Regions from separate parts of the Homo sapiens genome. Here regions 1, 2 and 3 are each linked to region 4. The links are contacts of gene promoters, found by promoter capture Hi-C in blood cells and fetal thymus (Javierre and others, 2016). All regions are on one chromosome and are shown on one strand. Each heading gives the region's core, a stretch centred on a gene start or on the middle of the fragment in contact. The rest is flanking DNA. Distances are from core to core; before and after follow the strand shown.

Region 1 (3,925 bases), core at 104-2,603, 1.6 Mb after region 4:
AATTCAACCACAAAGGGCCTGAACTATCAGAGTAGAGAAAGGGAATTATTTCATTTCTCAAAAGTTATGATTTAACTAGACTATTCAGTGAAAAGTGGTTGCCAAGACAATTGAAAAAATATAGTTTGTATCATTAAAAAAATAGAATCATGAATGTTCATGGATAAACCAAAGGAGAGACAAAGATACGGCTTGGAGATATTGATAGTCACTAGGTGGAAAAATCACTCTGATGTCAAATATTGTACAGAGCCCTGGAATATTAGGGTGGTTGTGTTAATACAATGAACTTTTAATATTTACCATTTCTGAGGTTATTAGACAACTTTTAAAGAATAGAAAGTTCCAGCCACTATTTCCTAAAATCTCCTATAATTATAGTAGTAGTTGGAGTAAAGAGAGAGATTTTGAAATTGTCTCCAAGAGATGAGTGAACAGAGAGAGTGTATAATTTAGGGTATTTTTATTTTAAGTAATAGAACAACCTATGAAATCTACAGAATGTATTGACTCATGAATTTGAAAAACTGTGATAGTGCTGGCTTCAGAGATTTAAGGGCTCAAGTCATATACAAGTTGGATTTCTCGTGGTGACTCATGCCTGTAATCCCAGGACTTTGGGAGGCCAAGGTGGGATGATCACTTGGGGTCAGGAGTTCAAGACCAGCCTGGCCAACATGGCAAAACCCCGTCTCTACTAAAAATACAAAAATTAGCTGGGCATGGTGATGCATGCCTGTAATCCCAGCTACTCGGGAGGCTGAGGCAGGAGAATCGCTTGAACCCAGGAGATGGAGGTTCCAATGAGCCAAGATCACGCCATTGCACTCCAGCCTGGGCGACAGAGCAAGACTCCATCTAAAAAAAAATAATAAATTCAAAAAAAAAAGTTGGATTTCTCTTAAGTTCTCTTTTGCTAGCCTTTGCAGGTTGACATTAGATTCCACCTGGTAGCAAAAAGTCTGTAGCATCCCAAACCTCGTTATCATATCATGTGCAGGTCTTGCAGGAAAAGCACCTCATATGAAACACCTAGAGTTCATTCTAATTGTTCTCAACCCTAAAACAAGCACTGTATTCAGTGAGGAACCTGAAGAATGCATAGAAAAGAAAGAGGAGGAGGTGGTGGCTAAAAAAGGATTACAGGGAGATCTGTGGGATCTATGGGACAAAGCCAGAGTTTATCTAGGAAAAGAGCATAGAGATAATTCTTTGGAAGGATAGTAATGACCAAAACTTCAGGTAATGGGCCACACTGAGGTTTGGTTTTGTGGAAGTTGAGCAAGATCCGGTGAAAAGGAGAAATTCTGCAAGATATCATTCAACCAACAAATGTCTTGATGAATATTACATGTTGTTTTTGTGATAGGATTATATTTAAAAGTGTCTTTGTTGTAGGATTATATTTAAAAGAAGTATAAAATACAGTTCCTGATTTCAAGTCCATAAGCTCTAGAATTTCATCATGGGCTAGTAGAACTTTCTACAGTGATGGAAATGTTCTATCTGTGATGTCCAATATGGTAGCCATTATCCACATGTGGTTAAGTACTTGCAATATGGTTACCATGACTAAGAAACTGAATTTGGAATTGTATTTTATTATAATTAATTGATTTATATTTAAATATAAGTAGCCACACATGACTAGTATCTAGAGTATAAGACAGCACAGCTCTAGAACATACTCTCATATAAAATAAATGGTAAAATTTACAACATAAAGTAGAATTAAGTTAAACAGTGTGAAAGCCTCCAAGTTTTGTAAGCAAAGATTTAAAGAGGGTTTTAGATTTATACTTGTATGAGTAAGAATTTAAACATAAAAATTCCTCCAAATTCCCATAGGTGGTTTGATTAAAAGCTGAAAGAAGTCATCTCTCTGTTGAGTATGCTTTTCCATATGAGAATGCAGCTGGCTCAGCCTTGGTATGGGACATTCACAGCACAGAAGTTAAAGTTCTGGTAATAAAGGAGAAAATCATTTGAAGTTTGGACATTCACAGTTCTGAAACCAAGGACAGGTGGCACACACATCCAAACGTGAACCTCTTCCAAGGATACCACAGAGAGTTTCCTCCACTGGCAATACAAAACTGGTCATGTTTTTTCTTCAAGTGTCTTGTGAGAACTACTCCTCCAATGTGAAAGTAAATGAGAATTTCTTGTACTATTTTTATCCCTTCTACCTGACAGATACTGCTTCTACAGATTCAGTTATTGGTAAGTGGTGTGATCAGACAAAGTTGGAATTGCACACCCAGTCACTTAGATTATTTGGATAGCATTGATTCATAGGTGACTGCTTTTTTTTTTTTTTTTCCTACAACCAGTTCTAAAATTGTCACCAGATGAAGAATTGAATGAATGTAACAAGGCTGTAAAGAAAATGTTTATTCTTATTTTATTTCTTATTTAACTAGTTGGAAATAAGACACAGTCAATTATTATTATTTTTTGATTACCTGAGCTAAAAGGAGGAGAGGACACTTACATATTTGTTGGTGTTTATTGAAACATTTTCCTATGTACCAGTCATTTTGCTATACATCATGTATTTATAAACATGTAATTATCCAAGCAATGGTATGAGGGAGGCCCTTCTACCATGTTCTTTAGAGAAGAGGTAACTAGTGAAGTGACTGGTTAAACAACATGTCAAGATCAAGACCTTGATGTGATGGAACTAGGACTCAAGAGGGCAGTCTGTGTCTGGAGCTTTTGATTTTAAACATTATATTGCTTCTCTCAATTTATGCATACCAGCATATGCACACACACAACCACGGAAAGAGGACCTAAAATTGGTTTTGCAGAAAGAGGCAATATACCCAATCAATCTCTTTGTTGGCTATTCTCCTCAAGTAGACTCCGTTCATTACCCTGTACCTTTTTTCTCTCCTCCCAGCTGGCACTCAGTAAGAACTAGTAGGATAGCCTAGGGGAAGATATTTGGGTCACAGATAATCCATAAATTTAATACGCAATTTATAGAGAAAGAGGAATTATTCATGTTGGTAAAGTGTTTTGCTGCTTATAACATATATTCTTTTGGGAAATCTAAGGGGTGATTTTTAAGGAGGTTCTAAATAAAATAATCCTAGCAAAAGAGAAAAATGCAAAATGAGACTTCAGCCATGCAAAATGCAGCAATGACCAGGCCATTCCCAACCTGCATTTAACAATTTCAGCTAGAAAAGTTGGTTATCCTTAGTGAAATGCCACAGGCATTTACAATGAAAGAATATATTAAATGTCCTCTTTATGAATTACAATGTTAACGTTAAGCTAAGAAATTGGGAAAGGGAGCGAGTATTTAATCACAGCATTTACCTTTAGCAGGGTTTCATATAATAAGGAATAAATAGCTTAGTAAAGCTTCGTTTTTCTGGTTGTCCTCTTTAAGTCCAAGCCTGGTCAGTTTTATTTTTTCTATCTTATTTTATTTTATTGTGTGTAATAGTGTCTCGCCGTATCACCCAGGCTGGAGGGCAGTGGCGCGATCTCGGCTCCCAGCAACCTCCGCCTCCCGGGTTCCAGCGATCCTCCCGCTTCAGCCTCTGGAGTAGCTGGGACTACAGGCATGCACCACCACATCCAGCAAATTTTTGTATTTTTAGTAGAGGTGGGTTTTTGCCATGTTTGCCAGGCTGATCTCAAACTCCTGGGCTTAAGCGATCTGCCCATCTCGTCCTCCCAAAGTGCTGGGATTACAGGCATGAGCCACCCTGCCCAGGCCAGGAACTCAATTCTGCATATACAAACAATGAGTTTGGAGGAGATTGTTTCTTACAGCCTCCAGGTGAGAAATTACTCTCACCAATACCTTTATTTCTGCCTTGTGAATGCCAGTCATGCCATCCTGGACTTCTGACTTGTAGAGCTGTGAACTCATAAATTGGTATTTTCAGCTGCTAAGTTTGTG
Region 2 (4,253 bases), core at 1,750-4,249, 1.9 Mb after region 4:
GGACCCTGATCCAATGAGCCCAATGTCCCAGGCAAACAGTAGAGAGGCAGTAGAGGGCAGAGGCATCCCAGACAAGGAGGCAAGGAAGAGTATGCAGCACTTGCAGGGAGGAAGGGCTCGTTCATACTGTTAGAGGGCAGGGAATGCAGACAGCTTAGAAATCCCCGTAGGGACAGACCTGCACCCCAGTATCAGCCACACCAAGGAGTGGGCCTTTTTTCTGGAGGTAACAGGACACAAGTGAGTAATACGACCAAGTCATTTTTCCCCCATCTGGAGCACTGGAGGTGTCACAGCTGAAGGTGAAGAGATTAGTGAGGAAGCTGGGCAGTAGCCATGGCAGAGCATGAAGACAGCCTGACCTGGGCAGTGACTCAGCAGAGGAAGGCACAAAGATGCAGAGACCATCAGCAGAACAGATGGACACTGGCATGATGGGCCTGAGTCAGAAGACGAAGTGTAAATACCCGATGCTCTCATTCTGTGATCTGGGACATGAACGTAGTCTCTTTAACAGCTCCCATCTTGTAAAAGGGAGTGCTGATGTGTACACCACGAGATTGTCGTAAGCCATAAAACACATGATGTGAGTGGCAATGATCTGCAATCTGCAAAGGTCTGTATGGATGTGCAATGTACGTTACCTCCAAAGTACATGATTTCCCTGGAATGATTTGGGATGACTGCCTCACGCATCAGGGCTCCACACTGCTCCAGTGATAGATGACTTTCTCACTTCTAAAGCTATGAATTATTTTTGTCAGGGGGACCTCTTTCTTGGAAGGATCTTCTCATTTTTTTTACAAAAGAAAAAATATATATCTTTGGTCTTTAGAACTGTCCACGCTGGCTTGCTAGGTCCCTTCTGTGTCTGATGTCATTATGCCTATGTGTGCATAAAGGCATGCTATTCCTCCTGCAGGCTTCCTTGTGATCTTGATCATTATCCAGCTTCTAATAAAACCAGTCAGCACAGGAAGACCAGGGAGGACTGAATGGGTTCTTAATGCTATATAAGGTCTGAGTGTAGACAACTCTTCTACATTTTCCGGACAGCTAACATGTAACACTCAAAAGAGAATAAAAACTACTTAGGAATATTTCCTGTTCCTTCAGTCATTGTGGCCATGGCAATGCACGTTCAAATGATTTAAAATGTGACCATTTGGAAAATGATCTCTCACAGCTTGTTGTAGTTGTACATATATATTTCTGTCATATATATCTATATATTATATAGATATATTTGATATGGGTATACAGAGATATCATATATTTGATATATGTATATCTTTAAATTATTGTTCCTCTGTATTCTTTATGTCATTATAATTCCATCAAAAATGCTCCAAGAAATTATTCTGGGGTTAAAACACAAATAATGGACATTTTCAGGTATGACAGCAAATAGAGATATGCTCATACCTTTTGTTTGTTCACTTGTCAATATAAATCTGTCTGTACCAGTTTTTACTGGTCTCTTAGCTCACTTCTACATATCAGTTCTCTGCTTAGTAAGGCTGAAGCCAGAAAGCCATAAGTATTTCTCCGGTGTCCTCGTGATGTGGCCTCCTGTTGGATAGGAGGCAGCAGCAGGAAAACAGAAGGCTAGCAAATGAGAAATATCTTTGTCCTTTCTCCCTCCCTCCCTCTTTACTTCTCTCTGCCTGCCTGTGCCTCGGGCGGGGTCTCTGGAAGTTGCTGTGTTGCTGGCACTCCTCTGAGGCCCCTCCTCCACGGTGCCAGCACTGGCTAAGGTGTCCTTGTGGTCAGGTGCCCCTTCCTACAAGTTTCAGCACCCATTCAGGACCCCCTGCAGCATGCAGCATGTGTGTGTTCGACTCTGATAACAACAGCTCCTCCCTTTTCCTCCCTGAGATCTGTGGGCAATAACAGCTTCCTGCTGTTACCAAGCTCTTGCTGCCCACTTTCTGTTTTTTCATCTCCTCCAATATTTTTTAAGCTATTCTCTTGATTAAGCAACCTCCTTGCAGAATATCTAGGTTTTTATTTCCTTTAAAAGACCCTGACTTATATAGCAGTCAGTACCGGTAGTGATCCCAGGAAACAATCACTCAAAACTGAATTCCAGTATTGATCTGTTGACCTGTTCAAGCTTGCATAGAATGACCTCCTTATTTGCAGCAGAAAATAGGTATCTAGTAAACTGAGACTTGAAGTGGCATTATAATGACTTAATCACCTCTTGTAGCTTGAGGTCAAAATTCTGCTAAAGACAAGGCTTTGGGAAAGCAAGTGGCCACTTCATTTAACTGTAACTTTTAGTACTGATGATTCAAAGGGCTACAGTGTGGGGCAGTTACTTCTAAATGCACTCAAGATACAGGGAAAGAAAAGGATACACTCAGAGGTTAAACTCTCAGTTCAAGGTATGGTCAGAAAATCAAAGAATGTCTACAGTAGTGAAGATGTAAGGGTTTTCATTTGTTTGTTTGTTTAAGGTAGCTCTAAAACAAACAAATAAAAACCTCACATCTTATAGTCAGAATGCATTTAGGGCTGAGGATTATGCTAAAAACTAAATAGTACATTGTAATACAGATTTGAGAGGTGGGCACGTAGTAGGCCATAGAGCCAGAAGGGCAATGTGAATGTTTCAGCCGTAGGGGCCAAGGGAAAACCTCCCCTTCACCTAACAGGGTGTAGAAGCTTATATACCATCTTGAAATTACAGAGTGAATGGGGGCTTTGATCATGGCAAAACAAGTTATGGGAGAAAGAGAAGAGGAAGTCTGGCTAGCAAGGTGGCCTTGTTACATAACTGAAACCTCACAGGTAGCAGCCCTCAGAGACAAAGGATGGTAAATATTTCTTTCTGACCTTTAAGAGTATCAGACTCAGTTAATCTTTCCTAGATCTGGACAAGGGGAGACCTGGCTGCATCAATGCAGAGTCTCTGCAGATGCCACTCTCCCCACAAAAGACAGCTTTGCAGAGCCACTTCTGTTTGCTGGCTCAATGAATAACCATCTCAAAGGGTGTCAAAGAAGTACATTTGGTGGTAACATATTTGATTTCTTTCACAACTCACAGGGATCATTGGTGGTACCCAATAGACTCAGGAAAGAGAGAGATGAGCTGCCTACTGGATTGTTACCTGGCCTGTGTAATTGGATAGTCTCCAGTCTGGTGAGCAGAAACTAACTCGAGTGAGGACAACAGAGGGTCACAGTCTTTTACCCAGTATCAGAACAAGACCATCTCACAGAGGCAGAGTCCTTTTATTGGAGGGGAAGCTGACTTCTTTTGAGTTTGAATCCTGCTACATTGTCACTGGTGTCCATTATCAATCCTTTGTCTAAGCTTCCTCAAAAGGACCTGTGTCATATTCTTGAGCAGCTATACACTGGGTAGACAGAATGGCCCAGATTTTAGAATTTACTAAACACTTGCTCTGCACTGACACTAATCTCTAGGGAAAGTCATGGTGGTTTATTGTCAGAGGGGAAACTTACACAGTTTAGATAATAATGGAGTTTTAGCCCAAGTCTTTCTCATAATAGGTCCACAGACCCACCCTGCTGGAATGTGTACAGTTGCTGAAGGTATAATGGGTTATACACACTTAGCAGCAGCTGGAATCCTCACCTTGGTTGCATGACCTAAGCTAAGAAGGACCAAGTGGATGGCCCTGAGATATCACCACATTGCTACCAAATAGTAAAACCAAAGCAATATTATGCCCTTGGGGAAACTTATGAATTTAGTCGCACCATAAAAATACCATAAAAGACTTGAAAGAGGCAGTACGGATCATTAATTTTACATCTCCATTTAATCCACTCCTTTGGTCCAGACAGAAGTTAGATCATCTGTATAAAGAATAGACCAGGCGCAGTGGCTCATACCTGTAATCCCAGCACTTTGGGAGGCTGAGGCAGGCAGATCACAAGGTCAGGAGTTCGAGACCAGCCTGACCAACATGGTGAAACCTCATCTGTACTAAACATACAAAAAAAAAAAATTAGCTGGGCATGGTGGTGCATGCCTGTAATCCAAACTACTCAGGAGGCTGAAGCAGGAGCATCACTTGAACCTGGGAGGCAGAAATTGCAGTGAGCCGAGAGCACGCCATTGCACTCCAGCCTGGGCAACAGAGTGAGACTCCATCTCAAAAATAAATAAATAAATACAAAGATCTTTTTATCTTTGCATCTTGCTAGGAAGACGATTTTTTTATTGGCGTAAGATGGAAATTTGCTTATGAATAAAAGGCTGTGTACGGATTCCTA
Region 3 (3,972 bases), core at 882-3,381, 1.6 Mb after region 4:
ATGCAGAAAAGATGGCGAAGCCAGTATTCTCTTTGGGGGTTGCAGGCAGATGTGTGGACAGACATGAAATGTCACAGTGAGCTCCTGTGAAGCACTGTTACAGACTGAGAGAGCTGCTGGTAGAGTCCCAGAGATTCTTTAGAACTGCCATCATTTCTTAGAAACTACTTGAGAACAACCTGCTTCTGAGCTTCTGGCTGAGGTCTTTCCTGAACTTCACTGGCAGCTTCCTAAAACTTTGCTTTTCTAGTTCTTGCTACATTTGTGTAAACTGCTTGCATTAGTCTGTTTTCACACTGCTACAAATAACTACATGAGACTGGGTAATTTATAAAGAAAAGAGGTTTAATTGACTTACAGTTCTGCATGGCTGGGGAGGCCTCAGGAAACTTAAAATCATGGAGGAAGGCAAAAGCAGAAGCAAGGCACCATCTTACATGGCAGCAGGAGGGTGAGCAAACAAAGGAGGAAGTGCCACACACTTTCCAATAATCAGATCCCATGAGAACTCACTCACTATCATGAGAACAGCAAGGGGTATGTCCGCCCCCAAGATTCAATCACCTCCCAGCAGGCTCCTCCCCCAACACGTGGGGATTACAATTCTAGATGAGATTTGGGTGGGAACACAGAGCCAAACCATAATACCCCTGTTCCTTTATTAAGCCCTTTATTGCTGGACTACATACATCAGCTTGTGTTTTTCTGGCTGAATTCTGATGGCCACATGTGGGAATCCTTAGGCAAGTGGGAAGATGATAGAAGGGACATGCTTGCTCTGTCAGGCACCCTTTCTCTACAGATGAACACTGAGCAATATGTGGGAGAAGTTGGGAAGAAATGGGATTCTAAATTTGAGAATTCACTTAAAAAGAGTGAGACAGAAAGGTTCCTGGTTCCAGAACCTGAGCCAGGAGTCAAATAGGATACTGGACGGAAACACTGGTGTATTAGAGCTAGAATAAAATTCTTAAGGGGAAGACAAATCAGGGAGAAGCTGGCTCAGAACACCATGACTGACACAAGAAGATTTAGGAAAAAGGCTCCCTGTCCCACCCACAAAAGGAGGGGTGAGGGACAAAGGAAAATAGAGAAGTTAGTTCAGCTGAGGAAATAGATTACATTGCAGAAGCCAGAGTGAAGATACTTTCCATTAGAAATAGCACCAACTACCTTGATAGGATTTGAAAAATCATTTCTATATAGGGCATTAAAATATTTTTCCCCATTCTCCCCAGCCTGAAGAGCCTCAGTTCCTGTGTAGCCCACAAATGCCATGGATGTCAACATCTCAAGCTTCCATTTTGGGTGTCCTTCTTCCTTTCCTATTCACTTCCATAAAATTTTTTAAATATCAAAACACAAGTTGCACTGCCATCTACTTCATCTAAGCAGTACAGTGAGCAGGAATTTTTTAAAAACCTTCAATAAAAGTGATAGAAGCAAAACTTGTATCATCTGATGAAATGCAGTATGATGCAGTAACTCCCAAATACGTCTAACAGCTCACTTTCCTTCCGAAGTCTCAACTACTCAAATGCACACAGTGCATACATTTTTATGAACTTTATAAAATTTGCTATGAATAGTGTTAAAATTATCTTTAAGTGACAAGGCAACCTATGGAATGAAGAAAATATTTGCAAATTATATATCTGATAAGGTGTTAATATACTGAGTACATAAAAAATTCCTACAACTCATCCACACACAAAAATCAACCCAATTAGAAAGCAGGCAACAGACTTGAATAGACGTTTCTCCAAGGACAATACACAAATGGTCAACAAGGCTATGAAAAGATGCCCAGTGTCACTAATCATCATAGAAATGCAAATCAAAACTCTAACATCACCTTACATCCATCAGGATAGCTACTATGAAAAAAAAAACAGGGGAAGATATGAAGAAATTGGAACTTTTGTATGCTCTTGGTGGGATGATAAAATGGCAAAATTGGTATGGAAAACCATATTGAGATTCCTCAAAAAGTTAAAAATAAAATTACCAAATGATCAAGCAATCTCATCTTTGGACTTATATCTAAAATAATTGAAAGCCGGGTTTTGAATAGAGATGTTTTCGCACACCCATGTTCATACTAGCACTATTCATAACAGCCAAATGGTATCAGCAACACAAACATCTATCAAAACATAAATGGTGTATACCTATGAAGAAATATTATTCAGCTTTAAATAAGACAGAAATCCTGTCACCTGCTACAACAAGGATGAATTCTGGCAACATATGCCAACTCCTCCATTATCCCTACTCGCAGAGCCTGCTAATCACCATTCTACTTTCTATTTCTATGAATTTTCCTGTTTCCAACTCATATAAGTGGAATCATCCAGTATTTATTTTTTTTGTGACTAGCTTATTTCACATGGCATATGTTCATCCTTGTTGTGGTAATAGAGGAGTTGTTTAATAGGTACTGAGTTTGAGTTTTGCAAGATGAAAACTTCCTGCATACACATTTCACAACAATGTGAATATTCCTAACACTACTGAGTTGTACATTTAGACTGGTCGAGATGGTAAACTTCATGTTACTTTTTACCATAATTAATAAAAATAGCTTAAAATAATCTTTAAGAACATCTCAGGAAAGATTTTGCACAGAATAAGGTGCATGATTCCTTTCAGACCTGGAAAATATGGCTCTTCTGTTAGTTAAATTTGCTAATGTCTCTTTTTTTTCTCCAGAGACCATCATCAGCTCAAATGTTTAACACATATTTGCTGAGATGCTACGTTATTCTTGGCACTCAGTATATTACAATGAAGAAAACACAGTCCTTACTGTCAGCACCTCACAATCAACTAAGTGAACAGATAATTATAACATTATAATTACAAGGAAAAGGAATACAATACAAGGTGAGAAGTTCAATGATGAAAGTGTATAGGCAACATGAATAGAAGATTATTAATTATCAGGACATACAATGAAAGCTTTGGAGAGGACTTAAAGCCAATCAAATTTACCAGGCAGATGGGAGGGAAGGGGGATAAGGGATTCTAGCAAAGAGAACAGCATCAATAGATGAATAAACATACAGTGTTCAAGGAACTTCAAGTCTTTCCGTGTTGCTTGATGTTGCAGGGCAAGGAGAAAAAAAGACAAAAATTTGCAGCAAAAAGTAGGGACTAGGTAATGGGGAGCCTTGTTATTTATACGAAGAAACTTGGCTTTCATATTGTTAGCAATGTGAATCCTCAGGGAGTTTTCAGTAGGGCAGAGAGCTATAAGCTCAATGTGGGGCAGAAAGTATAATATCAAACTTTTATTTTAGGAAAATCACACTGGCAACAGTGTACATTATAGTTTTTGGAAGAAAACACTATGAAAGGGAAAGGTATCAATAAGAAAACTCTTAAAACATTCCAGATTAAGGATATTGAAATAGTAATTTAAGGCAAATAGGCACATACCATGAGGGAAATTTTGAGAAACAGTTATGGAGTGAAATTTACAGGATGTAATATTTAGTTTGGCATTCTAGAAAAGGAAAAGAGAAATCTATGGTTCCTCATTGGTTCTTAACTTCAGCACCTTCCACAGAAGAAAGTAATATAGGAGAGAAGTAACTTTGGAGGATGAATAACGAGGGGATATAGGAGGCTGGGGAACAAGCAAATGACACATTGAGTTTGGGCATCTAGAATAGAGACTCCTGAGGAGCATGCAGACAAACAAGTGCAGAAGCAGTTGAATGCATGACTCTGGACCTCAAGGGCAAGATTGGGACTAGAGGTGGAGATTTGAGATTCATAGATATGAAAGATGGCATTCCCTAGAATGTAATGGTAGAAAAAGATGAAAAAGTACAGAGAAATATATATTCTATGAATGCAACAATTAAAGGTGTCAAGAAAGAAAAGTGCCTAGCAAACAAAATTATAATATGCGGAAGAAGTATTGTAAAGCTCTCAATATTACACGGAATTATCTTACCCAATGAA
Region 4 (4,071 bases), core at 765-3,264:
ACACCATTCTCCTGCCTCAGCCTCCCGAGTAGCTGGGACTACAGGCGTCCGCCACCACGCCCGGCTAATTTTTTGTATTTTTAGTAGAGACAAGGTTTCACCGTGTTAGCCAGGATGGTCTCAATCTCCTGACCTCGTGATCCGCCCGCCTCGGCCTCCCAAAGTGCTGGGATTACAGGCGTGAACCACCGCGCCCGGCCGACTTTAATATCTTCTTATGTGAAACAACTAATTAATCAATGAATAAATAATCTGCTTCTCTGTCAATTTGCTATCTTTTATGGTTTCTTCTAAAATAATCTCTAGTCTAAATTAAACCTAACCTGTTTATTATATAAGAATGCTTATAGCTTTTTTCAATAACTTAGTCCAATAAGTCACATAGATTAAAGGTGTCTCTACATATATATAATCTAAACATTTATGTTGCCACATAGAAAGTGGTTTTCTTTTTTCCCCCAGTGTTGATGACGATAGTTCATGTGTGCTTGCATTTATATTAGTCAAAAGGAATGCTTACAGTATTGAGGAAAGATGCTGAGTAGAGTTGCTATTTAAGGACTTACAGATGTGTGAGAGGTATTGCTATAAATTAGCATCCCCAGATTGGTCTAATTATGTCTGTGTCTCACATGTCTTTCAAATATCTAGTGTTCTTTGCTATCTATGCTTACACTTAAATCAGTTCTCTCTATGGTGGAATGATGGATGGGGGCTTATTTTGACAGTAAGACACTATCACATGGATGAAATAGTGGAATAAAATAACTATTTGAAAGTAAGAGTGCATTTCCACTCTGTTAAACTCACAAAAATGGTAACAAAACATGGCAAACTGTGGTGGATTTGAAAAAGCATCCTGGCAAATGCCAGTACCTATCTCCAGCATGGTACAAAAGTGTTGAAGTATGACATTTACTTTACAGTGAGTATAGCTTAGGAGGATGAGAGATTTTGGAAGTATTGTATATTTTCTACTATTTTGCATGCTAGGTTAACCAGGAAGCATTTGGCTCAGAGGTACTTTTAATCACATCCTTACACCCATACTAAATATTTTGTCTCACGCAGCAGTGTGCAATGACTTTCTGCATATCCATTCCAGTTGAACTGATCGTGAATTTCATCTCCAGTGCTTAGAGATGATGCCTTGGCAGTTCTGTTCTAAATGGGGAGAATAGCGGTGAGAGGGCCTATGGGAAAATAAGGCCTTCAAAACCCCCTACCTGAAAAGACCTCCGTTTGTTAAGGTGGAATCAGACACTGCTGAAATCTTCAAAGGGGAGAGGGTTCGGTGTGAAGTCTGGAGGAATAAGAAATACAGATGCTCTAATGAACAGCACTGGCTAACTTTATTATTATTATTATTATTATTATTATTAGCCTATCAGAAAAGACGTATAATGCATGTCAAAGGACAAAGTATTTTTTAACCATGTTTTAAAAAAAAATCAGGCTATAGAGTGTAGATTTAAATATTGATTGTTTTTTAGACCAGCATAAACTATACGGCCCAGTTGTCTGTGCAAACGTTGTGCCGACGATAATAACCGATGATAACCTCACCGCAGCATTTATCATCTTGGCAGAGTTGTTTGTTAGATCAGTGAAGATCCGGAAAATCAGGCGGCGTGCTGCTTGGTTTTGCCAGGAGTAAAAGTACTGAAGGATACCGGGAAGACTGGTCATTATTGTTCTTCTTGTGGTTGCTATCATTATTATTATTATTATATTATTATTATTGCAGAGGTCAGCGCTGCTTTTGGGGTGAAAGAAGACCATCAGCAAACCTCAGCCTTGCGGCCAGGACTCCCCCGTCTTCTGTCGGAGTCCGCCGGTCCGCAGCCTGCGGCAGGGAGGCCCGGGCACCCGCAGGTGGCGCCCCACGTCCGTGTTTGCGCCCTCAGCCGAGCTCCAGGCGCAGCTGGGAAACCCAGCGCGTCTCCCCGGGTCCTTTGAGCGAGCGCGGACACCGCAATTTAATAAATAAGCGCAAGCGCCAGCCGCTCCACCAGTCCGAGGTCCAGAGGAGCAGACACACAGACCCGGGCCGGAGGCCCCTCTTCTAGCCCTGCGGGAACCGGACAGTTCCCCAACTGGGACTCTGGAACCACAGCTCCTAAATCATCAAATTCTCAAGCTTTTTTTTTCCCTCTCTTCGTCCCAGCCATCCCAGTCTTCTTCTTCTTTTTTTTTTTTTTAACTTATTGTTTTTTTCGCTCCTGTCATTATGAAAGTGGTCACGCCATTCAATATTAAGACTTGGAGGGAATTGGGGAAAGAAAAGAAAGAATCTAAAAGAAGAGAAGCGACCGGTGCTTTTAAGGGTGTCTAATTTTCAAAAGAGACGTCTGGGAGTATTTTGCTCTGGGCGTTTGGGTGAGCAGGACCGGGGCGTTGGAGGGTGCGGCGGGCTTGGGAGCAGGGAAGGTTCCGAGTCCTAGGGAGGCGGCAGCGCTCGGCTATGCCCTCTGGAGACTGGCGGGGCTGCGGGGCCGAGGGGACCCGCGAGGGAGCCGCGCTGCGGACGCGCTGAGCGCGGGAGCTCGAGGGGCCCCAGGCAGCGGTGCGGGCGCGAAGCCCAGGGGTTGGAGGCACCTGGGCGCACAGCGCGGGGCGCTGAGCCGGGCGAGACGCGGGGTTCCCGGTCCCGGGCGCGGCGCCTAAGCGGGCGCGCGGGGCGTGGTGCACCCCTGAAGCGGCGCAGGCTGGCGCGGGAAAGCGGCAGGGCGGGGCGGCGCGGTTATTGGCCACGCGCTGGGAGCAGGGTCGCGCTCCGTGTCCTCCTCCCGACAGCTCCCACTCGCCTCATTTTCTCTAAGCAGAGCAACTTCGCGGACAGCGGAGCTCGCCCAGCATGGATGTTCCAGGTAACCACCCCCGACCTGCCCTCCCCTCCGCATGCAAGCGCCTTCTGCGTGGATTTTAACGAAGACTCTCCCTGGTCCAGATCGAGGGGTGGAGGAGGTGGAGAGAGAGAAGGGAAATCATGTAGGATCGGGGCTGCGGACAGCGGATATTTATCAAGAGCCAACTTCTCTGTTCTTAGAAAGAATACTGGAAGAGTTAATGGGAGGCTGTGGGCGGCGAGGGGGCGGCTTCTCTGCGTGTCTCTGGGCTGGTATTGAAATGGCCTGTCTGCTTTCCTGGGAGGAGCGGGGACGGGGCAAAAGTGCAGACGGGCGCGTAAGTTCGCAGAAACCTGCAGGGGCTGCCGCCCCGCTGAGAAAGAGAGAATCCCCGTGGTCTGGAAACCAGAGCTGGAGAATAACCCAAGCCTGGGATTCCGTCGTTGGAATCGGTCCTTCGCCTAAGAGAGGAATCCCAGGGGTTTCACCCAAGGGGGCTCGCTAGTGGCTGCAGGGACCTTGGAAGTAGGTGTTTGGCTTTACTGCCCGTGTGTGTGTGTGTGTGTGTGTGTGTGTGTGTGTGTGTGTGTGTGTGTGGTGTCATTTCCCCCCTAGTAATCTTATTCGCCCCAAGGAGATTCCTGGGATTTGTTCTGTGGGTGGAAAACAGATAAAATCTGTACCAAAGGGACTTAAATGGACTTTAAAAACATCTCGAGGATTGAAAAATAGAGGATAGCAGGGAAACAAGGGATAGGAAAAGGGTTCCTTGGTGCTGCTCCAAGGAAATGCTGTGAGATGAAGGCGAGAAGGCAAGCATTCGTAGGTTTTTCTTTGCCTGCGTCTTAGCCCCCTCCGCGCTGGTGAATGGGCGGGGTGGCGGTGACGCCTTCTGAGGGTCTCGGGGCCCGTCTTAGCGACGAGGACCTGCAGAAGCGCGGCCCCCTCCCTCGTCGCAGCCCCGCGCGCTGCTCGGGAGCCTTCAGGGATGCGCTGCCAGCTGCGCCCGGGCGTTTCTCCGGACCTGTTGTGCCAGATCGGAAAGCGGGTTGGCTGTGCGCGGGACCAAGGGGGTGGCCTTCGGGGAGAACCCCCGAGCCGCAGGCACCTGCTCCCAGTCCCCCTTCTTCCCGGTGGCTCCACCTCCCGGTGTAAGGCTTTGGGTTCTGTGCCCTGACAGGTTCACAGGCGCCTTTCTTCTGAGAACGACCCTGGCCTTGAA

The links. The method cuts DNA at HindIII sites, captures the fragments that hold promoters and counts their contacts. A CHiCAGO score of 5 or more calls a contact.
Region 1: a contact is called between a fragment that was not itself captured here and the fragment with the promoter of CBLN2 in region 4, in 1 of 17 cell types (M2 macrophages). The highest score is 6.2, in M2 macrophages.
Region 2: a contact is called between a fragment that was not itself captured here and the fragment with the promoter of CBLN2 in region 4, in 1 of 17 cell types (endothelial precursors). The highest score is 7.6, in endothelial precursors.
Region 3: a contact is called between a fragment that was not itself captured here and the fragment with the promoter of CBLN2 in region 4, in 3 of 17 cell types (M2 macrophages, M1 macrophages and endothelial precursors). The highest score is 12.3, in M2 macrophages.

Annotation. Positions count from the first base shown.
Region 1 is chr18:70,893,851-70,897,775 of GRCh38, reverse strand. No RefSeq gene overlaps it. Among named protein-coding and RNA genes, the nearest start is that of GTSCR1, 240 kb to the right of the region's middle. The HindIII fragment of the contact is 4,054 bases long and covers 1-3,380 here.
Region 2 is chr18:70,619,461-70,623,713 of GRCh38, reverse strand. No RefSeq gene overlaps it. Among named protein-coding and RNA genes, the nearest start is that of GTSCR1, 29 kb to the left of the region's middle. The HindIII fragment of the contact is 654 bases long and covers 2,673-3,326 here.
Region 3 is chr18:70,949,472-70,953,443 of GRCh38, reverse strand. No RefSeq gene overlaps it. Among named protein-coding and RNA genes, the nearest start is that of GTSCR1, 300 kb to the right of the region's middle. The HindIII fragment of the contact is 1,665 bases long and covers 1,299-2,963 here.
Region 4 is chr18:72,542,285-72,546,355 of GRCh38, reverse strand. CBLN2 (cerebellin 2 precursor) reads left to right here and starts at 2,014. Exons shown (of 5, transcript NM_182511.4): 1 at 2,014-2,379; 2 at 2,826-2,870; 3 at 4,030-4,071. The HindIII fragment of the contact is 3,863 bases long and covers 1-2,142 here.